3 separate regions of the Homo sapiens genome follow, and all the other regions are linked to region 1. The links are contacts of gene promoters, found by promoter capture Hi-C in blood cells and fetal thymus (Javierre and others, 2016). All regions are on one chromosome and are shown on one strand. The core of a region is centred on a gene start or on the middle of the fragment in contact, and the rest is flanking DNA. Distances in the headings are between cores, read along the strand shown.

The links. The method cuts DNA at HindIII sites, captures the fragments that hold promoters and counts their contacts. A CHiCAGO score of 5 or more calls a contact.
Region 2: a contact is called between a fragment that was not itself captured here and the fragment with the promoter of LRPPRC in region 1, in 1 of 17 cell types (M0 macrophages). The highest score is 5.7, in M0 macrophages.
Region 3: a fragment that was not itself captured here is called in contact with the fragment with the promoter of LRPPRC in region 1 in 1 of 17 cell types (total B cells); the score reaches 6.3 in total B cells.

What each region holds. Positions count from the first base shown.
Region 1 is chr2:43,994,292-43,997,630 of GRCh38, forward strand. It overlaps LRPPRC (leucine rich pentatricopeptide repeat containing), which reads right to left and starts at 1,698. Exons shown (of 38, transcript NM_133259.4): 1 at 1,508-1,698. The coding sequence starts at 1,656. RefSeq lists enhancers at 1,249-1,900, 1,696-1,975 and a silencer at 1,276-1,595. The HindIII fragment of the contact is 4,663 bases long and covers 1-1,877 here.
Region 2 is chr2:44,962,917-44,966,255 of GRCh38, forward strand. No RefSeq gene overlaps it. Among named protein-coding and RNA genes, the nearest start is that of SIX3-AS1, 23 kb to the left of the region's middle. The HindIII fragment of the contact is 1,155 bases long and covers 1,215-2,369 here.
Region 3 is chr2:44,776,592-44,779,930 of GRCh38, forward strand. No RefSeq gene overlaps it. Among named protein-coding and RNA genes, the nearest start is that of LINC01833, 160 kb to the right of the region's middle. The HindIII fragment of the contact is 184 bases long and covers 1,486-1,669 here.

The DNA of each region.
Region 1 (3,339 bases), core at 448-2,947:
CTAAGTTGTTAAGAAATCATAAATTATTTCCTCCACGTAATTTTATGGCGAGATTAGGTGTTCAGGCTGGTCCATGAAGGTCCGCATAACCGTAGATATTATGACTCCTGTAGTAACCAACAAAGCACTTACTAGGCATCAGGCCCTATACTAAGTGCTTAATACAGATAATTCTGCAATATTCCTAACACTACTACTACTCCCACCTTATAGCTAAGGAAGCTGAGGCCTGGAGATGTTAAGTAACTTCTCTAATGGCATAATGCAGATAATTTGAGGATAAAATGCAGATAAATCTGGAGTAGGCTGCAGTCTGGGCCCAGCCTACTGCAGATCCCTGGCTCTCAGTCCTTACGCGAGCTCTCAAAGTACCTTAATTTACAAGCATCAGTCTTTCAAAATCATTTTTTCTCCAATGCTAAAAGCTCAGCACCTATCTCCCCTTCTCTGGTGGTCAGAATACTATTAATAACCAAATGAACACTTTCACCAACTTTTCTTTTCCCCTCCACTACAAAAGTCTATACCAAACCTATCTCTGATAAACCTCAAACCATGAGAGCATTTATTCGCCTATCTGACACCCACTTAGAGTTTAACTTGCCTTTGCATCCCCAGATTCCAACAGAGTGCCTTGCATGTGCTCATTCATTCAAAGACACTTACAGGACGGGAGCGGTGGCTCACACCTGTAATCCCAGCACTTTGGGAGGCCGAGGCAGGAGGATCGCTTGAAGTCAGGAGTTCGAGACTAGCGTGGCCAACATGGTGAAACCCAGTCTCTACTAAAAGTACAAAAGTTAGCCTGGCATGGTGGCGCACACCTGTAATCCCAGCTACTCGGGAGGCTGAGGCAGGAGAATCGCTTGAACCCGGGAAGCGGAAGTTGCAGTGAGCTGAGATCGCGCCACTGCACTCCAGCCCAACTCGCGCAACACCTTCTTAAATGCTGAAGGAAAACTCCATTCAAGAGAACGCAGGCAAAAGCCCAAAGTGATCATAATCCAGCGTCCAGCTTTAAGTCATCCGTGGCTCACCCAAACTCCCAACCCACTCCTCGCCGCCCCATCCCTCGCAAAAAGCTAAATTTCCAATATCTAAATGCTAGGTGGTTACTGATCACCAACGGTGACCGCACGTGGGACACCACCCAAGCTGGCCAAGTGTAAGGAAAAGACCACCACCCGACTTCCCAAAGCAGTCTTCAAAGCCCCCCTCATCTTCGTTGACCATGGGTACCCCGAGGGCAGTAAGGTCCAGGCTGAAGTGGCGGGGGCAGGATTCAAGCCGGAGGCAGGCCATGCCCACAGCCGTGACCTTCTGAAGGCGCTTAACCCTGTCACCCGAAAACCCCTGGTAGGGAGCGTGGTGCGGAGCCCGGGGAGGCTAGGTCCTGGGGCGGGGAGAAGGGTGGCGAGCACAGGCAGGACCCGGTCCCTGCCGGCACCCACGACCCCGGGGGACCCTGGCGCCGCAGCTTGCCTGGAGAAAGGGCCTGGGCACTCACCCGGCCACGGGCCCGGCGCGAGCGGCGGGCAGATAGGAGGCGGCATGCAGCCGGCCCGGGCCGCCAGGGAGGAGGCGCAGGGAGAGCGGGAGGCGCGGGGCCGCCCCGGCACGCAGCAACCAACGCGCGGATCTCAGCAGGGCTGCCATTGCTCGAACGTCCCCGCAGCGGGAAGCACGCTCCGCCAGAAGGACAGGAGGAGCATGTGACCGCAGGGTAGCCTGGCGCGGCAGAGACCAACTGCCGGGCGTGCCAAATGTGGGGGGAGCGACGGATTGTTTTAGGTTGGAAGATGGAAAACCGCACTTCTCCGAGGACAGAAGACCCAATGTAATATTTACATAAACGATGTTGCTTGATTCATTATCGAAGCTTTTCTTTTCCGTCTTCCGTCTCCGATCTGGGCATCGTGTTCATTCGCTGCACCCCTGCACTCCTCTGTTGGTAGAGCCGCAAGAGGTCAACTCCTCCCAGGTTGGCGCAGAGGCTTGTGGGAGGCCAACTAGTAAAAATACCGAGAACTCTCGAGGAGAGCCGACTATGAAGATCCCAGGACGTGGGAAGGTTTCCCCCGCCCCCGAGTGCAGATGTTGCTGCTAACGTTCAGCCCTGACGCCATGTCCAATAGGAACGGCCCTTCACTCTCAGAAACGCGGGCCGGAGAAACCGTGGAGGTCTTTTGCACCTTGCCGTTTGCCTCCCAGGTTCAACATGATAGGATGTGGATTATCAGGGCCTGGGAACAGTGTAAAGGAACGCGCAGGTCCCCACCCTAAGCGCGTACGCGGGGCCTCGCTTTAGAAAATAAATGAATTCTACCAAAAATCCTATAGTTTTAAAGCTGGAATTGAACTGACTCTCTTCCCCAACCCTCCACCCCTACCGCGCCTCTCCCTTCAGTAAATGCACATATACATGTGAGAAGTAAAAGAACAATGTAATTAAGAGTCTCCAGCCAAATATGGGGAGAAAACTGGCAAGTTAAACCCATCGCTGGCGAAGTGGCTCACGCCTGTAATCCCATCACTTTGGAAGGCCGAGGCGGGTGGATCACCTGAGGTCAGGAGTTGGAGACCAGCCTGGCCAACATGGTGAAACCCCATCTGTACTAAAAATACAAAAAATTAGCCGGGCGTGGTGGCGGGCGCCTGTAATCTCAGCTACTCGGGAGGCTGAGGCAGGAGAATTGCTTGAACCCGAGAGGTGGAGGTTGCAGTGAGCCAAGATGGCGCCATTGCACTCCAGCCTGGGTGACACAGCGAGACTCTGTCTAAAACAAAACAAAAAAACCACGTCGCTGCCTTCACAGGGCTTACAGACTGGATCGGTTCCCTGTGCACACGTGGGAAGCTGAGAACAGCCTTCCACTCCCTCTACACCTGCCTGTCCCCTACCTATCACGAGGCAAACGCGGCGGGTATTTCCTCTGGAAGCCCTCCCACGGTCATTTCCGAAGTGACTGTTTATCCCACTGGACTCCTTATCAGTTAATCCCACGAACTCCTTATCAGTAGGGACTGTGATCTCTTATTGTAGGCCATACACCTACCCAGTGCCAGACACACAGTAGGTCTCATTAAATATGTGTTAAATTAATGTCTATTTTGAGATGACCTAGCTCACCTCTCCTTTGAGAGATGAGGGAACGAAGACACCCGCTCCAAGCCCCCAAAAGAAACAAGGTGAATTGATTGACTCTGGGTTATATTACTGAGCACTGGGAATACAAGTTATTCACCTATTCAACACGTATTTATTGAATACATATCCAGTGCCATACACTATTTGAAATCCTAGGAATACAGCAGAGAACAAAACAAACCAACCCTAGA
Region 2 (3,339 bases), core at 542-3,041, 970 kb after region 1:
ATTATGGATGGAGGACAAGATGCTGCTGCTGCCAGCTTCCCCAGACCCCCAGACCATGCAGCACTTCCTGGCCTCAGACAGTTCCTCCTCTATGAAGATTTGTCCAATCAGAGCAGCCACAGGCTGCCCCAGCCTCTCTGTATTCACATCCTGGACCTTCCTGGCCTGACACCCTCAATTTTATACTGCATCTTGTTTGCTTCCATAAATGTCATCCTGTGTGTCAGATCACATGTCCCCCTTTTTTTGGTCTCAGAAAATAAGATTGTTATATTTACATTACTTCATTGAGTTTTATTTTGTGGAAGGCAGAGGGAGAGCGTAAGTAATGAGTTTGTTGTGTCTTGCTTTCCAACCCATTGTAGATTTCCTATTTTTTCTTTCCTGTTGTAAATGTTAATCAATCAATCTACAATCATGTATAATAATAATGCTTATACTTTCGGTTAGTGGCTCTGAGTTCTACTGACTTAAGTCCCATACACCCACCAGCCTGGAATTCCTTCCAGTGGGGCTACCCCACAGCTTTCTGGGGCACAGCCTTGCTTTCTCTCACAGTCTGGTCACTGTTGAAAAAAGCCGACATTGTCTTCTTGATTCAAATAGGCCTTCTGGAAAACATTATTCTGAACAATCTCACAAAGATCTATAAAGAGTTTTCTTTCTTTCTTTCTTTTTCTTTCCTTCTTTCTTTCTCTTTCTTTCTTTCTTTCTTTCTTTCTTTCTTTCTTTCTTTCTTTCTTTCTTTCTTTCTTTCTTTCTTTCTTTCTTTCTTTCTTTCTTTTCTGAGTTGGATTATCTTTCTGTCACCCAGGCTGGAGTGCAGTGGCATGATCTTGGCTTACTGCAACCTCCACTTCCCGGGTTAAAGTGATCCTCCTGCCTCAGCCTCCCAAGTAGCTGGGACTAGTGTGCCCACCACCATGCCTGGCTAATTTCTGTATTTTTAGTAGAGATGGGGTTTCATCATGTTGGCCAGACTAGTCTTGAACTCCTGGCCTTAAGTAATTCACCCGCTTCAGCCTCCCAAAGTGCTGGAATTACAGGCATGAGCCACCGCACCCAGCCAAGTGTTTTCAAAAATTGTGAACCAAACACCCAGCACCTTAAAGTATGTGAGAAGTTTAACATTCCACAATTAGACCACTTGATCTCCACAAGGGGGATACTGTGATCCCAGGAGAGCCTTGCCCGGGAAGCCTGGATTGTTCTAAAGCTTGGAAGTGACATCCCAGGTCCACACTGTAGGTTTCCTCTCAGCTCTGGGTCTGGGGGCCTTTGTCATGGCTGCAACTTGCAGAGAGGTGTCTTAGGACTGGGATGCCGCTGGCTGAGGCCCTCTTGAGGGTCCTTTTTCCCTTTCTACAGCCACATATTGGATTCTCTTATCGGAGCTTGGCAAGCTCTTCCCAGGGGATTTGCTGTTCCTGGCTACTTCCTCTCTTCCTCCTCTCCCCTTCCTTCTTAAGTCCCCACCCTCTTCATCTTCCTCTTTTCCCTTCTTCTCCCTTTTCTTTTCTTTCTTTTTTTGAGATGGAGTCTCGCTCTGTCGCCCAGGCTGGAGTGCAGTGGCATGATCTCGGCTCACTGCAACCTCCACCTCCTGGGTTTGAATGATTTTCCTGCCTCAGTCTCCTGAGTAGCTGGGATTATGGGCACACACCACCAGGCCCAGTTAATTTTTTTTTTTTTTTTTTTTTTTAGTAGAGATGGGATTTCACCATGTTGGCCAGGCTGGTCTCAAACTCCTGACCTCAGGTGATCCACCCACGTCGGCCTCCCAAAGTGTTGGGATTACAGGCATGAGCCACCAAACCTGGTGTTCTTCCCCCTTTTCTTGCCCTTCCCTCATCTGCCTTTCTGGACAGCCCCGCCCAGTGTTCCCTCTCCCTGGGGTCTGTGTTCCGTGTGACAGCCCCCTGCAGGTGGAGGAGCCAGCTCCCCATGTCCTTGCCTCCCCAGTGCTCCAGCCTCCCTGCCTGGCTCAGCCGCCTCGGCAGATGCAGGCACCCCCTGCATTGTTTGCTGTCCTGAAGACGAGCAGCTGCCGCACTAATTGCCACCAGCAGGGGGGCCGGGCTGTGCTCGCACTCCTCCTGCCGATTAGGGGGCGACAGGGGGGCGGTGGGGGGGGGGGCAGTTTTCAGGAGCCGAATGAGCTGAGCCAGTGTTGAGCATTATTCCAGGAATTTTAAACACTCGTTAAAGGCTTTGCCATGTCTCACTTCAGTACACATCATGCTCCAGTTACTGCTGGGAACTGCGGGGGCATCAGCCCGGGCAGCACTTATCAATATTTTAGCACGAGAAAGGCAAATGATGTTGAAACATTGAACTATATTTCCATCTGTTCAAACTGAAATGGAACAAGCTTAGCTCAGGAAATGGAATCTCTCCTCCCCAGCTGCCTTGGAAGCAGCAATACCCACTGGCCTGGCCTTGGCCCTTGCCTCAGTTTCCCCTTCACCTCTCTTCTCGATTAGTCCCCAGTGTTCATAGCTTATGGGCATGATATTGAGCAGGTGTTAGGTTTGTGGGTAGAGCAGGAGTGGTGGCACCTCAAAGAACCTGAGAGGGACCCCCGTTCTTGTTAAAACGTGCCTTCCCCATTGACTGACAGAGAACAGTGGGGTCAAATGCGGTCTGTCTTAGTGCCAGGGGACATCCTCTCCATCCCCTGCACGGGCCTGTTTCAGTGTCTCTGGACTGTCCGTCCTGCAGGAAGACCCAGGATGGCTGGCTGGATGTGAAAAGGAAAGCACTGACCATATACAGGTGGACGAACACCGTAAATACCACACACAAATAAAGCATTTATGGTAGAACCCTGTTTCCCCTGGAACAAAACAGAATTTATTGGCAGGAAAGAAACTTAAGAAATATTGGCATTCAGTTGTCTGGGAAGAACAGAGAAGTTTCTACAGTGTGGAAAGCAGGGTGGCTGATGTGGGTGGAGATGAGTCATCTCATGTGATTTAGGGGAGAGCCCATGGGATGTCTCCTCCAGCAGGGCCCCCAAAAGGCCTGTGGTTAACAGTATTCAAGGAAGAAGGAACCCTTTTGTCCCCAGCCCTAAAGCAGAATGGGGGATTGCTTCTTCCCATTTCCCCTCAGACTGTCTTTTGGCAACCTCTCCCTTTGAGGCTGTTCAGTTTAATTTGGTTCATCTGCAGGGAAATAGGGGTGGGGTGGGTGAAGGGCATGTGGTAAGAGATGGGCCCAGAGCCTGCATTCCCCAAGACTCACCCTGCTAAGAGGGGTCCTGGGGACTGGTGTGGGGTATATACTTTTTGTTTCTGGCATCAACTGAAGAATAATTGCAAGACATTCGTCACCCAG
Region 3 (3,339 bases), core at 328-2,827, 780 kb after region 1:
AACCCTTTTTTTTTTTTTTTTTTTCTGGTGATGTTTTAACTGACCCAGAGGAAACAGTGCTCAATCAGTGAGACCTGACCAGAGAATAAGAGGCCGATTTCAGTGAACTCCCATAAAATGGATATTTTGCTAGCCAGAAGCATGGGAAATTGTGTGTGTGTGTGTGTGTGTGTGTGTGTGTGCTTAAAATAAAATCCAATGGTAAAGCATATTTGCATTAAAATATTACGCTAACCAAGGCTGGTAAGAACTGTAAATTATTGGAGTGGCGTAATAGAGCATGAGATTTTTTTTTTTAAGACAGGCCTTCGGGGTAATAGCAAGGGTTGAGGCTCACGACAGTGCCAAATAAGCTTTAGACAGCATAATAGTCTGCAAAGAAAGCCACAGAGCACTAATGTGAAGGAAGAGCTGTCCACCACATGCAGCAAAAATCACCAAAGGTCATTTTATGGTAGCAATTGTGACATAAAATTGGTGGTCATGCTACATGTCTAATACTCAGCACAGCTTTATAAATGATGGGCCCCTAGCGATGGCTGTCATTAAGTGCTTTCATCATAATAAACTTTAAACTGTTGGCTTTATGAATCGCCAGCTAGCTTCAGCTGTTCGTTGGATGGAGCTTGCAGTGCCTTAAGTGTGACAAGACCTATTAGGAATTGCAACCATGTTTCAAGCGTACTTGGCTTCCCCACTCCTGGGGTGATTGCTGCCTATTAAACGGCGTCTGGGAAGATTTTCCTCCAGCAATCTCTGATCAAGAGCTTTTTTGGGCTTTGACCTGCATTTCCTTCAAGACTTTCTCTGAGGAGTTTTATAAGAGCAAAACTCCAGAGCATTTATAGCCACTTCTGATTAATACCTTTCCAGTTTTTCTAGCAACTCTCCCACTGCTGCATAGAGAAAAGCTTTCATTGTTCCTGAGGTGCTTATTTGTGACCTTTTTTCTGCTTCCTGATTCCCTCTAACGTGTTCTCTCAGTGAAATCCTCGGGGTGGAACCCAGACAGTTGGTGAAGTTGTTACAGCTGGAGAGACAGAGAAGGAAAGAGAGAGGCTGTTATATTTTTAAAGGATTACATGCAGAGCAGCCTGGCCCCGCCCATTTAAATACTAATGTGACGTCACCTGCCGCCCGCTGTACCAAACGCATCCTTAATGAGCCCTCGGTGTAAATTGAGCCGACACATAAAGATTTCATGATTCAAATTACACTTTCATTAACCTTTAGCATGGGAAGTCTTTTAGTTTCTATAAATCTTACAGTGGCTTACCGTCTGTCCTACTGATGTGAATAATAGATGTTCGGAGAATCACTCTTTAAAAACCAGTGTTATTTAATTTACAAGGGCTAAATACATATTTCAGACTCACTTAGCAAGAACTTTATTTACTTCTTGTTGCTTGTTCTGACTTTGAGGCCACCCCTCATCCTCCCACCCCGTTTTCTTCTGCTTGACTCAGATGTTTTGGAGATGGTAAAAGCTTTCAATGTCTAAGTCCCTGTCTTAATACTCTTATTTGTCTTTCTTTTAGGCTAAGTAGTGTCCTAAAGATAGTTCAGGGAATGTCTCAGGTGTGGACCATTACACAATTAAATTAGCAAACCTCAGAGGGCTTGGATTAGAACCCGGCAGGGAACACTTGGGGATTCGAGGGCAGAGCCAAGCTTTCTGAATGGCAGTGGCTCTCCCAGGAACAGCAAGGGTTGGCCCGCTTGGTAGTCTCAGTCACAGACTTGTCTTACCAGATAAAGTATTGCAGGCACTCTTTTTTTCTCCTGGGAGTGAACAGGAAATACATTAGTGAATGTGTCAAGCCGAAGGGAAAACAGGAGTTGGAGGGCTCGTGGCTTTTCACATACAAAGGCATCCGCCATCCCACCACGGGAGCCGGCCAAGGGTGGACAAGTGCATTTTGAGGCTGCTGCCCAGGTGCAAGGGGAGGGGGCGGGGCGGGCCGCAGAATGCCCCCGAACAAAGGCGCCTCCAGGGGCCTGTGCAGAGGTCACCTGCTGCCTCCAGGGCAGATTAAGGAGGACTGCAGAGGGCATTTGGAGGAAATGGTGCTGTGCTTCTTTGGGAAATCAATTCGTCCCACCCTTAATAGGGCATTTTGCCCTCCCTCTTTGGGAGTCCCAGGCGAACATGCTTCCAGGTCTCTCAAAATCAGTTATAACAGACCCACGTTTGAAGAGGCGGCACCTTTCCCTGCCTGCGTTCCTTCAATAGCCTGTGCCCCCTGAGAATCTCTTTCTGCTCTCTGCAACATCTCACTTCCCTTTTCTCTCTTCTTTGGGCTCCCCCGCCCCTCTCTACCGAGGCCTCTTTCATAATTAGGCTGAAAGTGGAACTTTCCCCCACTCCCTTACTTTGAGATTTCTTTTTTCCCAGTGACCTGGGCTGCACTTTGCCCCCACTCCCTGCCTGCCAATCTCTTCAGGGTTAGGGCCTCTCTCTTTCCATTCTTGCCGCTCCCCCTCCTTGAGAGCTCCGGGAGGCCCAGCCTCCCTGAATCCGATCGGCTTCCAACACAGCAGCCCCCCTGTGGAGGAAGGAAGAGGCCTCCTCAGAATGAATGGCTGGTAAGGAGGTTTTTAATTTGTCTGGAGCTACAAGAAAAAGGCCTCAGAGCAGCGTTCCCTCCCTCACCTCTGCCGCCCACGCTGGGCCACTCTGCCTTCCCGGTGGGCACCGAGGCCGCACCATCCCAGGCCAGGTCCATGGTGAAAGCTGGGCGGTGGGATCTGAAAATGTTGGCTTGTTGTCTGGGCATCACCTGTGCAATCTAGAATAAGGACTCGGCTTTGTATATGAAATTCTACTTTTTGATGGTTTGCAGCCTACCAATGTGAGAAAGGTAGAAGCTGAACACGATGTGACTGTCAGACTAGGTCGGAAAGTGAGCTCAGGCCATCACTGTCTTGATCTGCAGTCTGCCTTCTGATGGCCGAGCTCTCCTTGAGCTTCAGGGAATGTCACCATGCTGTTCCCAACCCAGAAGGCAGTACATTTAAAAGCTTTGCCCACCTGACCTATGGTTCCACCTCCAGGTACATTAGCCTTCATTTTCCTCCACAGGCTTTATTTTTAGGAGCAGAGGCCACATCCCTGATCCAGCCTACATTTTGAGTGGATCTCTCACTGTCCCTCTGTCTCTCTCTCAAGCAGCATCTCATGATGCCAAGCGAGAGCAAGTATGAAGCAGCTTGGAGGAGAATGAAGCCGCTCACAGCTTCTGAGTGTCCAGAGATCTTTCCTCTCTCCAGGGATACTCCTGGTTGGCCCACCTTCTGCCCCATAAGATGAGAACCTCGGCTCTGGGCTGGGTGACAGAG